2 separate regions of the Homo sapiens genome follow, and region 1 is linked to region 2. Evidence: promoter capture Hi-C in human tissues and cell types (Jung and others, 2019). All regions are on one chromosome and are shown on one strand. Each heading gives the region's core, a stretch centred on a gene start or on the middle of the fragment in contact. The rest is flanking DNA. Distances are from core to core; before and after follow the strand shown.

Region 1 (3,757 bases), core at 932-3,431, 580 kb before region 2:
TTCCCCACCTTGGCTGCGTATTAGAATCACCTAGGGAACTTTAAAAAAACTCTATTTCCTAGGCCATACCTCGAACCATGAAATCAGAATCTTTGGGCATCAGTAATTTTTAAGTCTCCCTGGGCAATTTCAACGTGCAGCCAAGGTTGAGAACCACTGCCTTAGAGGAAGGAAAGGAAGGAGGCAAGGAAGGGAGGAAGTAGGGGTGGTGGGAGGGAGGACAAGGCCAAAACTGGAAGCCCTTTCCCTGTGATGGAAGAAAACTGACGTGAGCCAGACCTGGTGCCACACCCCGGGACACACACCGAGAAAACCCAGTGAATCTTCTGCCAAGCCTGCCGGTGACTCGGGGTGCTGTTGTCAGTATCTTTTTTCAGCTGAGTCAACACATCGGGAGAGCCGAAGAAGACAAACACAGGGCGACTCGCCGCTGATGACTTTCCACTTCATACCTGGTGGCATCCGAGATGCCCAAAGGGAGGAGGCCTTGTCAGTGGCGACAGCGGAGACAGACAGAACCCTACACTTGATGGGATGTCGGGAGAGCGTCCAGTCTAGCCCTGTGTAGATTTCTGAACTACCCAAGACTGCTGGCCATCTGTCCCAAGAACAGGTGTGACCAGGAACCAGCCTCTGTTAGCTAGGAACACAGAGTCTGTTCATTCATTCATTCGTTCACTCACGCATTCGCCTAATCACAGCTCAGCATGGCAGAGCCGTGAGTAGGGGCCCTCAGATACCACATGCAGCTCGGCGCTTCCCAAGCTTTGTTTTTAGTTGAGGAATGCTGGGTTTAAGTGAAACCGTATGGAGGCATAAACAAATACAAGAGAGCCGCTCCAGCTAAAGCAGGGGAGGGGGCCCTGCGCCCGGCCCACTTGCCTCCCTTCCACTAAGGGGGCTTCACCAGATTCTCCTGTTTCAAGGAGAAATAGAGTTTGGAAACCTCTCATTTTATAAACGAGGACACTGAGGCACAAAGCAGGGTAGTTGGTGCCTTGCCTAAAGTCATACAGATTTCATGTAACAAATTGTGCTGGCTAGGTATGGGAGGATGCAGAGCTCACAGCACAGATGAATACCTCCATCGCAAAGGCTGAACCAAATGCCCCGTTAAATCAAGAGATCTGCCTCTCTCAGCTTTGTTTTCTGAAGAAATCCCTTCCCAGGGTTCTTCCCCAGCATGCGGCACTCAGGGAGAACCACAACCTTGTCCTCTAGGGCCCAGCAGGTGTAATGTTCAGTGGGCATGCGCTGGTGCAGCATACTGCCAGCATCCACGCCGGTGTCCTGGGGGTTTACCTGATTGTTAACTATTTTAAAGATCACACTTGGATCCCACTACCAATGTTTCCAAAGTACAAGTAAGAGCCGGACGCGGTGGCTTATGCCTGTAATCCCAGCACTCTGGGAGGCCAAGATGGGCAGATCATTTGAGGTCAGAAGTTCGAGACCAGCCTGGCCAACATGGTGAAACCCCGTCTCTACTAAAAATACAAAAATCAGCTGGATGTGATGGCAGGTGCCTGTAGTCCCAGCTACTCAAGAGGCTGAGGCAGGAGAATCACTTGAACCCGGGAGGTGGAGGTTGCCGTGAGCCAAGATAACACCACTGCACTCCAGCCTGGGCAATAGAGCGAGACTCCTTCTCAAAAAAATAAAAATAAAAGCAAAATGTGACTAAGAATCAGACAGTAACAGAAAATATCAGTAACAAAAGAGTCCACACCTGCCTTTCTCATTGCTATTATTTGATACCAGAACTACCTGAAATCTTTCAGAAAGAGGGAAGAGCATTCTTTTCCTGGGAGCTTTCTAGGTGCAGACTTCCGCTCATAGCTGACAGTGCACAATGGGCAAAGAGTGACCAGGCTGACTTCTTCTTCTTCTTCTTTTTTTTTTGAGATGGAGTTTTGCTCTTGTCGCCCAGGCTGGAGTGCAGTGGTGTGATCTTAGCTCACTGTAACCCACGCTTCCCGAGTTCAAGCGATTCTCCTGCCTCAGCCTCCCAAATAGCTGGGATTACAGGCACCCGCCAACACGCCCAGCTAATTTTTGTATTTTTAGCACAGACGGGGATTCACCATGTTGGCCAGGCTGGTCTCGAACTCCTGATCTCAGGTGATCCTCCTCAGCCTCCCAAAGTGTTGGGCTTACAGGCGTGAAACACCGCGCCTGGCCTATGCTGTCTTCTGGAGATGGACTGAAGGCCACACCAGGCCTCGGGACACAGCCTGAGGGCTTCAACCCCTGGGAAGGGATTTCTTCAGAAAACAAAGCTGAAAGAGGCAGGTCTCCTGATTTAACGGGGCATTTGGTTCAGCCTTTGCGATGGAGGTATTCACCTGTGCTGTGAGCTCTGCATCCTCCCCTACCTAACCAGCACAATTTGTTACATGAAATCTGTATGACTTTAGGCAAGGCACCAACCACCCTGCTTTGTGCCTCAGTGTCCTCGTTTATAAAATGAGAGGTTTCCAAACTCTATTTCTCCTTGAAACAGGAGAATCTGGTGAAGCCCCCTTAGTGGAAGGGAGTTCCATCCCTGCCCCTTCCACTTGCTGACAGTCTGCATGTGGCGGGGGCACGCGTTTCTCTAATCCACAGTGTACGTGTAGTGGGTGCTGTCCCCCCCAGGAACCACCCTTGGCTGAAGGGAGCCGTCTTGCCTGGGTTTCCCCCTCCCAGAGGGCACAAGGATCCCATCGCCTCAATGGGGGCACATCTTAAAAGGGCCACCCAAGCTTCAGCACACCAGCCTCGCTGCCGTTCAGCCTTTCCTGTGCCAGCCTGCCTTCATGACTCCCCAGCGGGGCTGCTCCGTGAGTGCTCCCAGTTACCCTGCATGCCGACAGCCCATGAGTGCTCCCAGTTACCCCGCACACCCAGAGCCTGCGTTTTGAGAACCTGGCCCAAAGCAGTACTCAACCACAAAACAGGGGCAGATTCCTACCTCTCGGCTACGGTGAGGGTTAAGTGAGCACACTGCTCACATGAAATTTCCTCTCCAACGCAGCGCCTGGACTATAGTAAATGAGCCATACATACTTGTTCATTTCCTCCCTCTCTCCATTCTTTCTTCCCCCAAGTGTGTTTATAGTCTTTATTGTGAGTGTTCTCTATCCTTGGAGAGAGACATCTGGCTCTCTGTTCATTGGCAGAACTGAAGTGATTGACACACTCTAAACCTAGTAAGTGTCTCATCCCTTTCTGACATACAATTGTTTATGTAGCTGTGCTCACTCCTCATACCAACACACACACACGCACACACACACACACGTACAGACACACACACGCACACACATGCCCACAAGTGGTATTGCCGAATCCTGCAGTCTTTGTAGTTTCACAAACATCCAAATCTTGACACCACTGCCACAACACACAGAGAACTGCTTGTGTGGAGACCTGTATGCCAGGTGCTGTGAGACATCCCAGGAGGGAGAAGCTCATTTTCCAATGATGGAATCAAGGAGGGCTTCATGAGAGAGGTGACATTTGTCATGGGCTTTGAAGGCTGCATAGAAATCCAGCAGGCAGAGGGGTGGGAGTGGCTTTCCAAGCCAAGGGAACTGTGGAGTTGGGAAAACACAAAGCATGTCTAGGCAAATCCTCCAGTCTAACTGAAGATAAAGCTTCAAGAGGAGGATGAGAGGGAGGAGCCAAGGGTGGGAAGGTAGTTTGTGACTTGACTGGGTGGGGCCTTGAGTGCCAAGCTGAGGCCAGAAGTAATGAGATTCTACTGACAATTTCT
Region 2 (3,787 bases), core at 685-3,184:
GTGGAGAAAGGAGACCAAAGATGCTCTAGAAATAGGTGCACAGCAAGTTTAATGACAAACCTAACATTGTTTATAGCCCCGTTTCACCTCTCCAAATTGTCCTCTAATTAGAAAAAGAAAGCCAACCCCTGCCACCACTATTCCCTCACCTATCGCCAAAAGACACATCAAAGTTCTCAATTCGCACATCATAGGATTTGTTCTTGCCAGATGATTCCAACCGACTCTCCTTTCTGCTGCCTGCCTGGCTGGCTGATGCCTCTTCTAAGACTCTTTAAAGGGAGAAATGGACAGCTCTTAGTGCTCCCCACCACCTTCTGTCCAGGCAAAAGCTGCTCTGCTCTCTTCTGAGCCATGCTTCCCCCACTCACAGAGGGTTGCTGGTCTTGAGCGTGTCCTTCTCTGAGCGCTTCTCCTGCTTTGCCTTAAGTCGAGCCTCGGCCTTCTCTAACTTCTTTGCATTCACTGTCTAAGGGTCCAAACACATCGACTTCACTCTCGGGTGTAGGCTCAGAAAGGAACCCCAAGAGAGAACATCTCGAGTAAACCCTCTTAACTTACCCATGATGAACAGACTCAAAGGCTCAGGAAAAGACATAGTCAGAAATCCCCCCAAAAGATACTCCAATTAGACAGTCAACTCCCAACCCCATCACAGACAGTCCCCTCCCTTGCTTCCTCCTCCTCACCGAGGACTGTTCCCTCTTTAGCAGTCCTGGAAGTTTGGTTCCACAGTCTGTAAGCGATAAGAAAAGCAGTCACCTTCTCCCTGAGGGAAGGGAAACTAACATTTTGAGTGACTAATAGGAACCAGGCACAGACACAGATGTTTTCTACAAAACCTTATAATACTGCAGATAGATGGCTATTATCTTCCCTGCACTAAAAACAAAACAAAACAAAACAAAACAAAACTCACGTAGAAGGATACAGAGGCATAGACAAGGCTGGGGACAGATAACCAACTCTTACAAGATCATGCAGCTGGTTAGCAAGTTGCAAAACTGGGGGTGAAAGCAAGTCTGTCCAGCTCCAGGCTCTTATGCTTCCTATCCTACCCAAGAGCTTGGAGGGAGAACCCTCCAACCTCCTCCCCACCCCCATCATGGGCTCTTCTGCCCTCGGTAAAGACATCAACTAGCTCCTACAACCTTGTCCTGTGGAAAAGACGTAGGAGCCCTAAGCTGCAGGCAGCAGATGGTTGGGGGCGGAGAAAAGCACAGGGGGGCAGTTAGTTCAACCTCCCCTCACTCTCACCGTAGTTCTCCGTTATCTTTGACAACTGGATAGGGGCGTCCAGTAGCACCTGGCTATTTCCCTGGCTTTGTGGCTCAGCCCTATGTGGGTAGGGATAGAAAGCGCAGAGTTAGGAGTTGAGGGAAAAGCTCTATGGCCATCAGATCTTCCTCCCCCACCTCTTGTCTCCGGACCGTTCGCCGTCCCTTCGCCCCCATCAACCCCTACTCCCTGGCACATACAGACGCAGAGTGTTGTACATGCGCTGGCACACGGCCCTGATGCCCGCGTCATCCTTGCTGTCCCCGGACACCTCTTGCAATAGTTCCCCTACAGCTTCCACCAGGTCATCCACAGACTCGAAGTCCGCGCTGCCGCTGTGCAAGACGCCTGGGCAGGGCGTGGTAGAACGAGGAAGGTATCGGGTAGGGTGGACACACAAGCAGTTTCAGACCCCAGACAGAGGCCCCAGTCCAGGCTCCAGACCCAACCAGCCCCCGGGACAAGAGGTCATGCAGAGGAGAGGCCTGGCAACAGTCCCGGGCACGACGCTCGCTTAGACTTTCCCCCGGCCTCCACTTCGGTCTCCCCAGCCGGCCGATTCAGTTCTGCTTACCGGTCACGTAGTCGAAGACTTGTCCGTCAATTTCGGGGAACTCGCTCCGCAGGATTTCGGCGCAAGTCGCCATGTTCCACTCAGGAACCCGTCCGCGCAGTCGCTGTGAGACCCCGGCCTAGGCCCGCCCCCCGCCCTGCCCCCGAAATCTCGCCCTTCCTTGCAAGGCGCATGTGTAGCGGTGACGCAGGAAAGGAGCGGAGTGCGCAGAGCCCGGTGGGCGGGGCGAGCGGGGCCTTGAGGAGAGGCGCCGAGTCTGCGCCGGAGCCGCGCTCTCTGCGCGTGCGCGACACCTTTTCCGCTGAAAGATTAGCCACATGTGCGGTTCTCGCTGCCTTCTGGGAGGTGGAGTTCCGGGAGCGAGGGGTGGGGCAAAGGCTGGGAGCTCAAGGTTTATCGGGGCCGCGAGGCACCCGTGGTCTGGCGGGTGGGAGCCTCCCAAGAGGCAGGCGGCTGATAAAGCACTTTGGCTTTGCCAGGTTTTATGCGCTCCCTCGAGGCGCGTCTGCTGCTGGTGCGTACCCAGTCAGGCCCATTTTGGAGCCTGCCCAGAGCTTTGCTGACTCACCCCGGTCCCTGACTCTCAGAAGCCCCCTGCTCAGTGCTTTGCTTTCGCGGGTCCCCAGACCCTACGGGCTTCTCAGCCTGGTGGCCAGCGCCACCCGCCTCCCCGCCGCGACCGCCTTTTCACTGTGTAATTCAGCCGACCTTTGTGAATTAAGCCCATTCAGTTCTTCCACCACCCCAGGGCACGACCAAATCCACCGCCAAAGGGCAAGAAAACCAGGACAACGTGGCCTGTATAAATTATTCCCTACCTACACCCTGAGCAGACTTCTCTGCACTCAATAAATGCCAATAAAAGGCTATTTCCTTTCACCGATTCCCTCGGGAAGTTAGGAATTTCCTCCAAAATGATGCTACTGCTTTATATTTAACGTGAATATTCCTCCAATTGGTCTCTAAAAGTGGCACCGAAAATTACATTATTACCCATTCATCCCTTTGGATTAAACATTGCCATCATGAGGCATCAATCCCGATATTGAACCATTTTACAGGAAATACAGGTAAAGAGGAATATGTTAAGTGACTTCATGGGGACAACAGGCAAATTCTGATGTGGTAAACTACAGAACTCTGGTTTCTTCCACAAAATTGCAAGACCTGAAGGGAAACATCAATTTTTAAAATTTGAGGAGCATTAACCAACCACAATGGACCTTATCTGGAAAAATTTGATAAGACACCTGGTTAAGTGAACACAAACTGGATGTGATATTAAGGAACTGGCCACGCATTGATCATAGTTGAAGCTGGGTGATGAGACATGGAGATTCATTATATTCTTTTTTTTTTTTTTTTTAATTTGAGAAGGAGTTTCGCTCTTGTTGCCCAGGCTGGAGTACAGTGGCGTGATCTTGGCTCACCGCAGCCTCCACCTCCTGGGTTCGAGCGATTCTCCTGCCTCAGCCCCCGAATAGCTGGGATTACCGGCATGCACCACCACGCCCGGCTAATTTTGTAATTTTAGTAGAGACGAGGTTTCCCCATGTTGGTCAGGCTGGTCTCGAATTCCGGACCTCGGGTGATCCACCCGTCTCGGCCTCCCAGAGTGCTGGGATTACAGTGTGAGCCACCGCGCCCAGTCCATTATGTTATTCTCCTTGCAAATCTTTCCTCCTACCACCCAGTCAGCAAGATTTGGGAAGCTTGGGTAAATGATGGAATTAAAAGGTCAATTTCTTAGGATGGCTACAAGACCAAATGTAAACTTCACACTTAATTTATGCTTAATCTAATTAGAAAACATCTGCCTAAGAATTAGAGAAAGAGCTGGGTGCTGTGGTGGTGCGTGCTTGTGATCCCAGCTACTCCAGAGGCTGGGGCAGGTAAGATCTCTTGAGCCTAGGAGTCCGAGGACCAGGGGGAATA

Evidence for each region. Contacts are between HindIII fragments. The study calls those that stand out against the background at their distance.
Region 1: a contact is called between a fragment that was not itself captured here and the fragment with the promoter of ABCF3 in region 2, in 2 of the 25 tissues and cell types used here (aorta and pancreas).

What each region holds. Positions count from the first base shown.
Region 1 is chr3:184,766,615-184,770,371 of GRCh38, reverse strand. All of the region lies in intron 1 of LINC02069 (long intergenic non-protein coding RNA 2069), which reads left to right. Among named protein-coding and RNA genes, the nearest start is that of LINC02069, 4.7 kb to the left of the region's middle. The HindIII fragment of the contact is 4,547 bases long and covers 1-3,757 here.
Region 2 is chr3:184,184,346-184,188,132 of GRCh38, reverse strand. It overlaps ABCF3 (ATP binding cassette subfamily F member 3), which reads right to left and starts at 1,934. Exons shown (of 21, transcript NM_018358.3): 1 at 1,853-1,934; 2 at 1,479-1,626; 3 at 1,258-1,337; 4 at 690-736; 5 at 372-469; 6 at 150-272. The coding sequence starts at 1,925. RefSeq lists enhancers at 1,630-1,949, 2,427-3,141. The HindIII fragment of the contact is 10,900 bases long and covers 1-3,787 here.